Linked DNA regions of Homo sapiens: region 1 is linked to region 2. The links are contacts of gene promoters, found by promoter capture Hi-C in human tissues and cell types (Jung and others, 2019). All regions are on one chromosome and are shown on one strand. Each heading gives the region's core, a stretch centred on a gene start or on the middle of the fragment in contact. The rest is flanking DNA. Distances are from core to core; before and after follow the strand shown. Region 1 has its middle 6.8 kb from the start of SLC3A2. Region 2 holds the start of GANAB (glucosidase II alpha subunit).

The links. The method cuts DNA at HindIII sites, captures the fragments that hold promoters and counts their contacts. A contact is called where the count stands out against the background at its distance.
Region 1: a contact is called between a fragment that was not itself captured here and the fragment with the promoter of GANAB in region 2, in 1 of the 25 tissues and cell types used here (spleen).

The regions. Positions count from the first base shown.
Region 1 is chr11:62,871,315-62,876,819 of GRCh38, reverse strand. It overlaps a transcript of SLC3A2 not described here. Among named protein-coding and RNA genes, the nearest start is that of SLC3A2, 6.8 kb to the left of the region's middle. The HindIII fragment of the contact is 8,872 bases long and covers 1-5,505 here.
Region 2 is chr11:62,643,500-62,648,648 of GRCh38, reverse strand. It overlaps GANAB (glucosidase II alpha subunit), which reads left to right and starts at 2,036. Exons shown (of 24, transcript NM_198334.3): 1 at 2,036-2,087. The coding sequence starts at 2,050. It overlaps INTS5 (integrator complex subunit 5), which reads left to right. Exons shown (of 2, transcript NM_030628.2): 2 at 1-1,801. The coding sequence ends at 1,629. RefSeq lists a silencer at 1,865-1,944 and enhancers at 2,555-2,714, 3,030-3,837. The HindIII fragment of the contact is 17,220 bases long and covers 1-5,149 here.

The DNA.
Region 1 (5,505 bases), core at 373-2,872, 230 kb before region 2:
TATCAGCCTGGCTAACATGGTGAAACCCCGTTTCTACTAAAAATACAAAAATTAGCCAGGTATGGTGGTGCGTGCCTGTAATTTCAGCTACTCAGGAGGCTGTGGCAGACAAATCACTTGAACCCATGAGGCAGGGATTGCAGTGAGCCAAGATCGCGCCATTGCACTCCAGCCTGGGCAACAAGAGCAAAACTCTGTCTCAAAAAAATAATATAAAATATAATAATAAAACTAATAAATTAGGAGATGGAGGACAGGAAAACAAAAAGACTACAGAGAAAAGACTAGAGAAATGGACCAGAGGTGAGTAAAGAGCCTCAGATCCTGCCATATGTGTTGATATAAAGCTTAATATTTACTATAGGAACACAAAGAATATAATTTTTCAAGAATTTAGCCTTCAAGAGAAGGCTGGGCAAAGCAAAGGAAAAAAAGCAGTTTGGCAGCCCAGATGCCAATAAGGTCCACTTTACACTCAGACAGACAGATGGCGGTGGAGCCCTGAAATGCAGGGGGCCAAGTATATAAAGAAAGTTCCTTTCTAACCCTCTGCTGCAAAAATCCATGTCACATGCTTCCTAACACATGAGGATTATTACTTGATCTTAGCCTGAAAACAGGACATTTATTTTTCCTCAAACATGTAAAAAGGATTGACCAGGCACAGCAGCTCATGCCTTTAATCCCAGCGCTCTGGGAAGCTAAGGCAGGAGGATCACTTAAGCCCAGTAGTTTGAGACCAGCCTCGGCAACATAGGGAGACCCCATCTCTACAAAAATTAACAAATTAGCCAGGCATGGTGGCTCACCCCTGTGGTCCCAGTTACTAAGGAGGCTGAAGTGGGAGGATCACTTGAGCCCTCAGGTTGAGGCAGCAGTGAGCTGTGATCACAATCACACCATTGCATTCCAGCCTGGCTGACAGGGTGACCCTATCTGAAAACAAACAAACAGGCTGGGCGCAGTGGCTCATGCCTGCAATCCCAGCACTTTGAGAGGCTGAGGCGGGCGGATCACCTGAGGTCAGGAGTTTGAGACCAGCCTGGCCAACGTGGTGAAACCCCATCTCTACTAAAAATACAAAAATGAGCTGGGCATGGTGGTGGCTGCCTGTAATCCCAGCTACTCAGGAGGCTGAGGCAGGAGAATCGCTTGAACCTGGGAGGCAGAGGTTGCAATGGGCCCAGATCGTGCCATTGCACTTCAGCCTGGGCAACAAGAGCAAAACTCCATCTCGAAAAATAAACAAACAACTAAAAACATCTAAGAAGGACTTTTTTTTTTGAGATGAAGTCTCGCTCTGTCGCCCAGGCTGGAGTACAGTGGTGCGATCTCAGCTCACTACAAGCTCTGCCTTCCAAGGTTCACACTATTCTCCTGCGGACTCCAGGTGCCCACCACCACGCCCAGCTAATTTTGATTTTTTTGTGTATTTTTAGTAGAGACGGGGTTTCACCATGTTAGCCAGGATGGTCTTGATCTCCTGATCTCGTGATCCACTCGCCTCGGCCTCCCAAAGTGCTGGGATTACAGGCGTGAGCCACCGTGCCCGGCCACATCTAAGAAGGATTTCTAAAGGCAGAGAGAAGATGGGAGGACAGCTAGAAACTCTTCAGGAGACTGTCTCTGTCCAACAGCCTCCATAAATCTTCGAAAGCCCAAGACTCTATTCCAAAGACCCAGAAACAAAACATCAAAGCTGCCTCTAAAATACCAATCAGCCAGAAATCTTGAAGATTTTAGCCATTTGAAAAATGAGGCCAGTGTGGTGGCTCATGCCTGTAATCCCAGCATTTTGGAAGAATGAGGCGGGCAGATCATTTGAAGTCAGGAATTCGAGACCAGCTTGGCCAACATGGCAAATCCCCATCTCTACTAAAAATACAAAAATTAGTCGCACACGATGGCGGGTGCCTGTAATCCCAGCTACTTGGCTGAGGCAGGAGAATCCCTTCAACCTGGGAGGCGGAGGTTGCAGTAAGCTGAGATTACACTGCACTCCAGCCTCGGTGACAGAGCAAGACTCTGTCTCCAAAAAAAAAAAAAAGAAAAAGAAAAAGGAAAGATGGGTGAGGAATTGAGCATTTGGAAGTCAAAGCGTGGCTGAAATTAAAGCAGAGAAAAAGACTCCAACTAAAGCAGTTCACTTCGCAGCTACTATCTGAAGAACCCATGTCAGAATACTATTAATTGTTACTATGAATCCTATAGGAGGGACACTGGCTGCTAAAGAAGAGACCTGTCAGGGTTGTCTTACTAAAGGGTGAAGAATGCAAAGTGGGGATAAAAGCCAGAAAGAGTGAAAGAAATAGAACCAAAGTCATCTCTTAGGAGAAGAGAAATAAATGCACCATCTGAAAAGTATCCAGTATTCAAGTAAGTTAGACAAATGAAAAACATTGCAGCAAGCCATTCTCTCAAATGAAACCAAATACTAAAAGATAAACACCAGAGAAATAGCAGGTCAGTATGTGGAAAATATGGGGTAGTACTTTTAACATATTATCCTTGGATTAATGACATCAGATATTCAACTGATCAGAGACAGAATACTTAATCTCATCAAAAAAGATAAGTAGCAATAAGAGACCTTAAAATGATCACTGAGGCCCTCCAACAGCAGCTATTTCTGCAGTCATGATCACACAATACTGCATCCTCATTTTCTCCCTCCCCTGGCCCTCCAAAACTTTGTCATCACACTCTGAGGAAGAGAATCACTAAGCGCAGCCTGCACTCAAGATGTACAGAGTTAAACTCTGTATCTCTGGGCAGAGGGAAGATCTACATAAATTATTTGAGACTCTTTCTCCAAAAAAAAAAAAAAAAAAAAAAAAAAAAAAAAAAAAATTAGCTGGGCATGGTGCAAGTACCTGGGGTCCCAGCTACTTGGGAAGCTGAGGTGGGAGGGACCACTTGAGCCCAGGAGGTTGAAGCTACAGTGAGTTATGATTGCACCACTGCACTCTAGCCTGGGCAACAGAGCTAGAACTGGTCTAAAATAATTAAAATAAAAATTAGAAATAAACAAAAAAACAAATAACTGATGAGCCTGGCCAGGTGCCATGGCTCACGCCTGTAATTTGGGAGGCCAAAATGGGAGAATCATTAGAGCCCAGAAGTTTGAGACCAGACAGGGCCACGTAGCAAGACCCCGTGTCTCTATAAAAAAAAGTTTGATTTTAATTAGCTGGCCGGGTGTGGTGGCTCACACCTAGTACTCCCAGCACTTTGCAAGGCCAAGGTAGGAGGATTACTTGATCCCAGGAGTTCAAGACCAGATTGGGCAATATAGTGAGACCTTGTCTGTACAAAATTTTTTTTTTTTTTTGAGACAGAGTTTCGCACTGTCACCCTGGCTGGTGTGCAGTGGTGCGATCTCGGCTCACTGCAACCTCTGCCTCCCAGGTTCAAGTGATTCTCCTGCCTCAGCCTCCCAGAGTACCTGGGACTACAGGGGCCCACCACCATGCCCGGCTAATTTTTGTATTTTTAGTAGAGACGGGGTTTCACTAATGTTGGCCAGGCTGTTCTCGAACTCCTGACCTCATGATCTGCCCGACTTGGCCTCCCAAAATGCTAGGATTACAGACGTGAGCCACCAGGCCCGGCCACAAAAAATTTTTTAAATTAGCTGAGTGTGGTTGCACATGCCTGTAGTCCCAGCTACTCGGGAGGCTGAGGTGGGAGGTATCACTTGAGCCTGGGAAGTTGAGGGTGCAGTAAGCTGAGATCACACCACTGCACTCCAGCCAAGGCCACAGAGCGAGACCCTGTCTGAAAAATATATATATATTTTATAATCAATAAGGTGAAAGAGAATATAAAATATTGAGAAGTAGATATTTAGAGTATGGTATGCTGTAACAGAAAATTGAATTTGAAATATCACTCATTCTGCAACTAAAAAATTGGTTAGGCCAGGCACAGTGGCTCACGCCTGTAATCCCAACACTTTGGGAGGCCAAGGCGGGCGGATCACCTGAGGGCAGGAGTTAAACACCAGCCTGACCAACATGGAGAAACCCCATCTCTACTAAAAATACAAAATTAGCCAGGTGTGGTGGCACATGCCTGTAATCCTAGCTACTCAGGAGAATAAGGCAGGAGAATCACTTGAACCGGGGAGGCAGAGGTTGCAGTGAGCCGAGATCGAGCCATTGCACTCTAGCCTGGCCAAGAAGAGTGAAACTCCGTCTCAAAGAAAGAAAAAATTGGTTAATTTCAACACCAAGTCTCTTAAAAGGAGGCTGGACTATAGAGAAACTAAAGACAAATTCTGTTTTCTGTTTCTTGGGTTTTTTTGAGACAGGGTCTCTCTCTGTTGCCCAGGCTGGAGTGCAGTAATGTGATCTTGGCTTACTACAGCCTTGACTTCCTCAGCTTAAGCAATCCTCCCACCTCAGCCTCCTGAACAGCTGGTATTACAGGAGCATGCAACCATGCCTGGCTAATTTTTGTATTTTTTGGTAGAGACAGGGTTTTGTCATGTTGTCCAAGCTGGTCTCGAACTCCCGGGTTCAAGTGATCTGCCTCCCAAAGTGCTAGCATTAGAGGCGTGAGCCACTGCACTCAGCTAATGAATTCTTTTTTTAAAAAAGCAGAGGGCCAGGTGCAGTGGCTTACGCCTGTAATCCCAGCACTTTGGGAGGCCAGGCAGACGGATCACAAGGTCAGGAGATCGAGACCATCCTGGCTAACATGGTGAAACCCCGTCTCTACTAAAAATACAAAAAAAATTTAGCCAGGCGTGGCGGTGTGTGCCTGTAGTCCCAGCCACTTGGGAGGCTGAGGCAGGAGAATGGCGTGAACCCAGGAGGCGGAGGTTGCAGTGAGCTGTGATCACGCCACCGCACTCCAGCCTGGGCGACAGAGCAAGATTCCATCTCAAAAAATAATAATAATAATAATAAAATAAAGATTTGATGTCATAAAGAAATTAGTGCTCCCCAAACAATCTAAAAATCCAAATGCAATTCTAATACAAATCTTAATATCTGGTGGTGAGAACTTTGTAAGATGACTCTATAATTCATGTGCAAGAGAAAAGGGCAGAGAATAGTAAAGATATCTTTAAAGAAAAAAAATCGTATTTTTAAAGACAAATTCTACCAGATAGCAAGCATGTTATTTGCTAAAATAATAATTACCTGTAACCTCAGCATTCTTGGAAGCTAAGGCAGGAGGATCACTTGAGGCCAAGAGTTGAAGACCAGCCTGGGTAACACAGTCAGACCCCGTCTCTACAAATAATAATAATAATAATATTATATAAAGTATGGTTGGGCACAGTGGCTCACGCCTGTAATCCCAGCACTTTGGGAGGCCGAGACGGGCGGATAACCTGAGATCAGGAGTTCGAGACCAGGCTGGCCAATGAGGCAAAACTCCGTCTCTACTAAAAATACAAAAAATTAGTCAGGCATGGTGGCGGGTGCCTGAAATCCCAGCTATTTGGGAGGCTGAGGCAGGAGAATTGCTTGAACCTGGGAGGCAGAGGTTGCA
Region 2 (5,149 bases), core at 787-3,286:
AAAAACCATGTTGGAGAGCTGTGTGGAGAGACGTTACGATTGGAACGGAAGCGCTTCCTCTGGCAGCACCAGCTCTTGGGCCTGCTGTCTGTCTATACCCGGCCTAGCTGTGGACCTGAGGCCTTGGGCCATCTGCTGAGCCGAGCCCGAAGCCCTGAAGAGTTGAGTTTGGCCACCCAGTTATATGCAGGGCTAGTGGTCAGCCTCTCTGGCCTCCTGCCCCTGGCTTTCCGAAGCTGTCTGGCTCGGGTGCATGCAGGGACATTACAGCCTCCCTTCACGGCCCGGTTCCTGCGCAACTTGGCACTGCTAGTAGGGTGGGAACAGCAGGGTGGCGAGGGCCCTGCAGCCCTAGGGGCGCACTTTGGGGAATCTGCCTCAGCCCATCTGTCTGACCTGGCTCCTCTCCTGCTACATCCTGAGGAGGAAGTAGCTGAAGCTGCTGCCTCTCTCCTGGCCATTTGTCCCTTTCCTTCTGAAGCCTTATCCCCCTCCCAGCTCCTGGGACTGGTAAGGGCTGGGGTGCACCGCTTCTTTGCCTCTCTGAGGCTGCATGGACCCCCAGGTGTGGCCTCAGCCTGTCAGCTTCTCACCCGCCTGTCTCAGACATCCCCAGCTGGGCTCAAGGCTGTCCTGCAGCTGCTGGTTGAAGGAGCCTTACATCGAGGCAACACAGAACTGTTTGGTGGGCAAGTAGATGGGGACAATGAGACTCTCTCAGTTGTTTCAGCTTCTTTGGCTTCTGCCTCCCTGTTGGACACTAACCGGAGGCACACTGCAGCTGTGCCAGGTCCTGGAGGGATTTGGTCAGTTTTCCATGCTGGAGTCATCGGCCGTGGCTTAAAGCCACCCAAGTTTGTCCAGTCACGAAATCAGCAGGAAGTGATCTATAACACCCAGAGCCTCCTCAGCCTCCTGGTTCACTGCTGCAGTGCCCCAGGGGGCACTGAATGTGGGGAATGCTGGGGGGCACCCATCTTGAGTCCAGAGGCAGCCAAAGCAGTGGCAGTGACCTTGGTGGAGAGTGTGTGTCCCGATGCAGCTGGTGCAGAGCTGGCCTGGCCCCCCGAGGAACACGCCCGGGCCACCGTGGAGCGGGATCTCCGCATTGGCCGGCGCTTCCGCGAACAGCCCCTGCTCTTTGAGCTGTTAAAGCTGGTAGCAGCTGCACCCCCAGCCCTGTGCTACTGTTCCGTGCTGCTTCGGGGGCTGCTGGCCGCCCTCTTGGGCCATTGGGAAGCCTCTCGCCACCCTGACACGACCCACTCCCCCTGGCACCTGGAGGCATCCTGCACCTTAGTGGCTGTCATGGCTGAGGGAAGCCTCCTGCCTCCGGCCCTGGGTAATATGCATGAAGTATTTAGCCAACTGGCACCTTTCGAGGTGCGTCTGCTGCTGCTCAGTGTCTGGGGTTTTCTCCGGGAGCATGGGCCCTTGCCTCAGAAGTTCATCTTCCAATCAGAGCGGGGTCGCTTCATTCGGGACTTCTCCAGGGAGGGTGGAGGTGAGGGTGGACCCCATCTGGCTGTGCTGCACAGTGTCCTCCACCGCAACATCGACCGCCTAGGTCTTTTCTCTGGCCGTTTCCAGGCACCTTCACCGTCCACTCTCCTTCGACAGGGGACGTAGCCTTTTCTTGCTCTGGAAGCCCAGGGAGGTTGAGCAGTGAGAGAGGGAAGGGACTAACGTGCTCCGGAAGGGTGGAGGTTTCTCTTCTAAGTCCTTGGTCTAAAGAGCGCTGTCACTTTTTTCTCTCCCACTTTTTTTTTTCTAAATAAAATTTGCCAACTTGAGAAAACCAGTCCAGTGCTTCTGTCATGCTGAGAGCGTGCAAAGTCTGACAGCGCCTGGCTCTGGACGTTCCCGCCCCTGGCCTGAAGCCCCGCCCCCTGCGATAATTTGGAGTGCGCACTCTACCAATGAGACAGCTGCCCGGCGGCGCTCAGGTCGAACCAATCATAAGGCCGGAAGGGGCGGGAACTAGGATACGTGGCTGAGCGCGCGCGATGGGGCGGGAGGTTTGGGGTCAAGGAGCAAACTCTGCACAAGATGGCGGCGGTAGCGGCAGTGGCGGCGCGTAGGAGGCGGTGAGGAGCCCGGAATCTGGGGGCGCGCCCGGGACGCCCCCAGATCCCCCAAGTCCCATTCCACTCCTTCCTGTGTGTCTCTTGACACTCTGCCACCCCCGGCCTCGTGAGGAACCTTTGTTCCTCTGGAGGCGGCCTCAGACGCCTCCGGTCTCCCCGTGGTAGATCCGAGCGACGCTGGGGGCCTTGCCTGTGGGGCTCCGGGCTCCCGCCCGGCGGTTTAGTAAAGCCACAGCTGTGCGTCTTTCTTGGTCTTGGCCGCTCTCAGCCGCCGCCCTCCTTTGGCTGCTTGCGGCGGTCAACGTCGCCGCCCCCTTCCTGCAGTGCGCGGGGTCGTCGGGGCGGGGGAAAAGATGCGGCCTGGCCTCGGGGAATGCAGCCTGCGGCCCCGCGGCCCCTCGGCTGAGCTGGAAGCACCGGGCCAGCAGTTAAGCCTGTACTACCCTTCTGGCTCTACCCTGTAGAGCTCCGAATCCTCCTCTGCCCTTGTCTTCACGTGAGCACCAGCTCTGGCTTAGTTCAGTGTCCACGGTCGCTGGGCACGGCCCAGGGTCCAGTAAGCTCACGGCGTGGATGGTGTTGCTCAAACACAACATGTAATCGAATGGCTTGGTCCACGCTCTCGGGTTTATATTACTGGGGAAAAAAAAAGATTCGAAACATATCACCAGTGCCACAAATGTTTACTAGGACCTAACGGATATACTGGGGTGGGGTAGGCGTGTACTCTCCAAAGCGATGAAGAAAGCGTGGATCATAAACTCAGTTCCCTCGGAGCCTGTGATCTGAAACAATAAATGCGTGCAACTTGCCCTGCAGCTTATTCCTGACTTTGGCCTATGAACACCTCTCTTGGGGTGGTCAAGGCCGCCGTGAATTCCTTAGGGCCCTCCAACAGGTCATATCTGAAAGATGCTTTAGGAATCCTATCTCCATTGGCATCTTTCCGAACCAATTTTACAGACTGTGCAAATAGGGCCCCAGAGGGTATTTAACTCACTGTACGTCTTTTTTTTTTTTTTTTGAGAGACAGAGTCTCGCTCTGTTGCCCAGGCTGGAGTGCAGTGGCGAGATCTCGGCTCACTGCAAGCTCCGCCTCCTGGGTTCACGCCATTCTCCTGCCTCAGCCTCCCGAGTAGCTGGGACTACAGGCACCCGCCACCACGCCTGGCTATTTTTTTGTATTTTTAGTAGAGACGGGGTTTCACTATGTTGGTGAGGATGATCTCGATCTCTTGACCTCGTGATCCACCCGCCTCGGCCTCCCAAAGTGCTGGGATTACAGGCGTGAGCCACCGCGCCCGGCCTCAACTCACTGTACTTCTATTTACTGCTGCTTTTGGCAGGTGGACGTGGGTCAGTGGCCAAGAGTGCCTGTTGCAGTCACTCAGGTCACTCACTGCAGGACCTGTGCCGCATGCCTTGCTATGGAGTTTTGTGGTAGCATTTATTCTGCTTGGCCTATTAAACCACAGTGCCTAGTGTTTTCTTCATTTTTCTGTCTGGCCTGCTGTGGAACAGTTGTTTCGTACATTCCTCTGGAGCTGGAGGAGAGTCCTGTGATGAGATCATAGTACACTCTGTGATCTCATTTCTGGTAATTTTCTTTTAGCTTTCAAGCAGATGCTGAAGCTAATGCTAGATAACTAGATACAATGTGTATAATAGACCCTGTCTTTAGTTACCTTATTATAGGTTGTCAAATTTTATTTATTTATTTATTTGTTTGTTTACTTATTGAAACAGGGTCTCGCTCTGTTGCCTAGGATGGAGTGCAGGGGTGCAATCTCGGCTTACTCCAGCTTCCACCTCCCGAGTTCAAGCGATTCTCCTGCCTCATCCTCCCGAGTCCTGGGATTACAGACGTGTGCCACCGTGCCCAGCTAATTTTTGTATTTTTAGTAGACACCCCATTGACCAGTCTTAATTAATTTACTTTTTTGAGACAGAGTCTTGTGCTGTGGCCCAGGCTGGAGAGCAGTGGTGCAATCGTAGCTCATGCAGCCTCAAACTCTTGCGTTCAGGCAGTCCTCCGGCTTCAGCCTCCTGATTAGCTGGGACTACAGGCACCTGCCACCATGCCTTGCTACTCTTTTTTTTTTTTAAGTAGAGACGAGGTCTTGCTGTGTTGCCCAATCTTCCCTTTTTGACCTCCCAAAGTGCTAGGATTATAGACGTGAGCCACTGTGCCTGGCTGGTTGTAAAACTTTATTGCTTAGAAGAACCCTCCCACCCCCAGTTTGAAACACTTTCTCAGAGTATGCTCGTATTCTGCCCATATCAGTGTCACTGGGAGAGCATGTTTAAAATGTGGTGTCAGCCGGGCACGATGGCTCACACCTGTAATCCCAGCACTTTGGGAGGCCGAGGCTGGCGAATCACCTGAGGTTGGGAGTTCGAGACCAGCCTGACCAACACAGAGAAACCCCGTCTCTACTAAAAATACAAAATTAGCCGAGTGTGGTGGCACGCGCCTGTAATCCCAGCTACTTGGGAGGCAGAGGCAGGAGAATTGCTTGAACCCGCGAGGCAGAGGTTGCGGTGAGCCAAGATCGTGCCATTGCACTCCAGCATGGGCAACAAGAGTGAAACTCAGTTTCAAAAAAAATTAAAAATAAAATGCGGTATCCAGGGTGGGTGCAGTGGCTCACGCCTGTAATTCCAGCATTTTGGAAGGCCAAGGTGGAAAGATGGCTTTAGCCTAGAAGTTCAAGACAAGCCTGGGCAACTTTTTTTTCTTGTTTTTGAGACAGAGTCACACTTTGTCACCCAGGCTAGAGTGCAGTGGTGCGATCTCAGCTCACTGCAACCTCTGACTCCCAGGCTCAAACCATTCTCGTTCCTCAGCCTCCCCAGTAGCTGGGATTATAGGCATGTGCCACTACGCCTGGCTAATTTTTGTATATATCTATTTTTTTCTAGGTGGTGTTTCGCTGTGTCGCCCAGGCTGGAATGCAGTGGCACAACCTTGGCTCACTGCAACCTCTGCCTCCCGGGTTCAAGCAATTTTCCTGCCTCAGCCTCCTGAGTAGCTGGGACTGCAGGCGTGTGCCACCATGCCC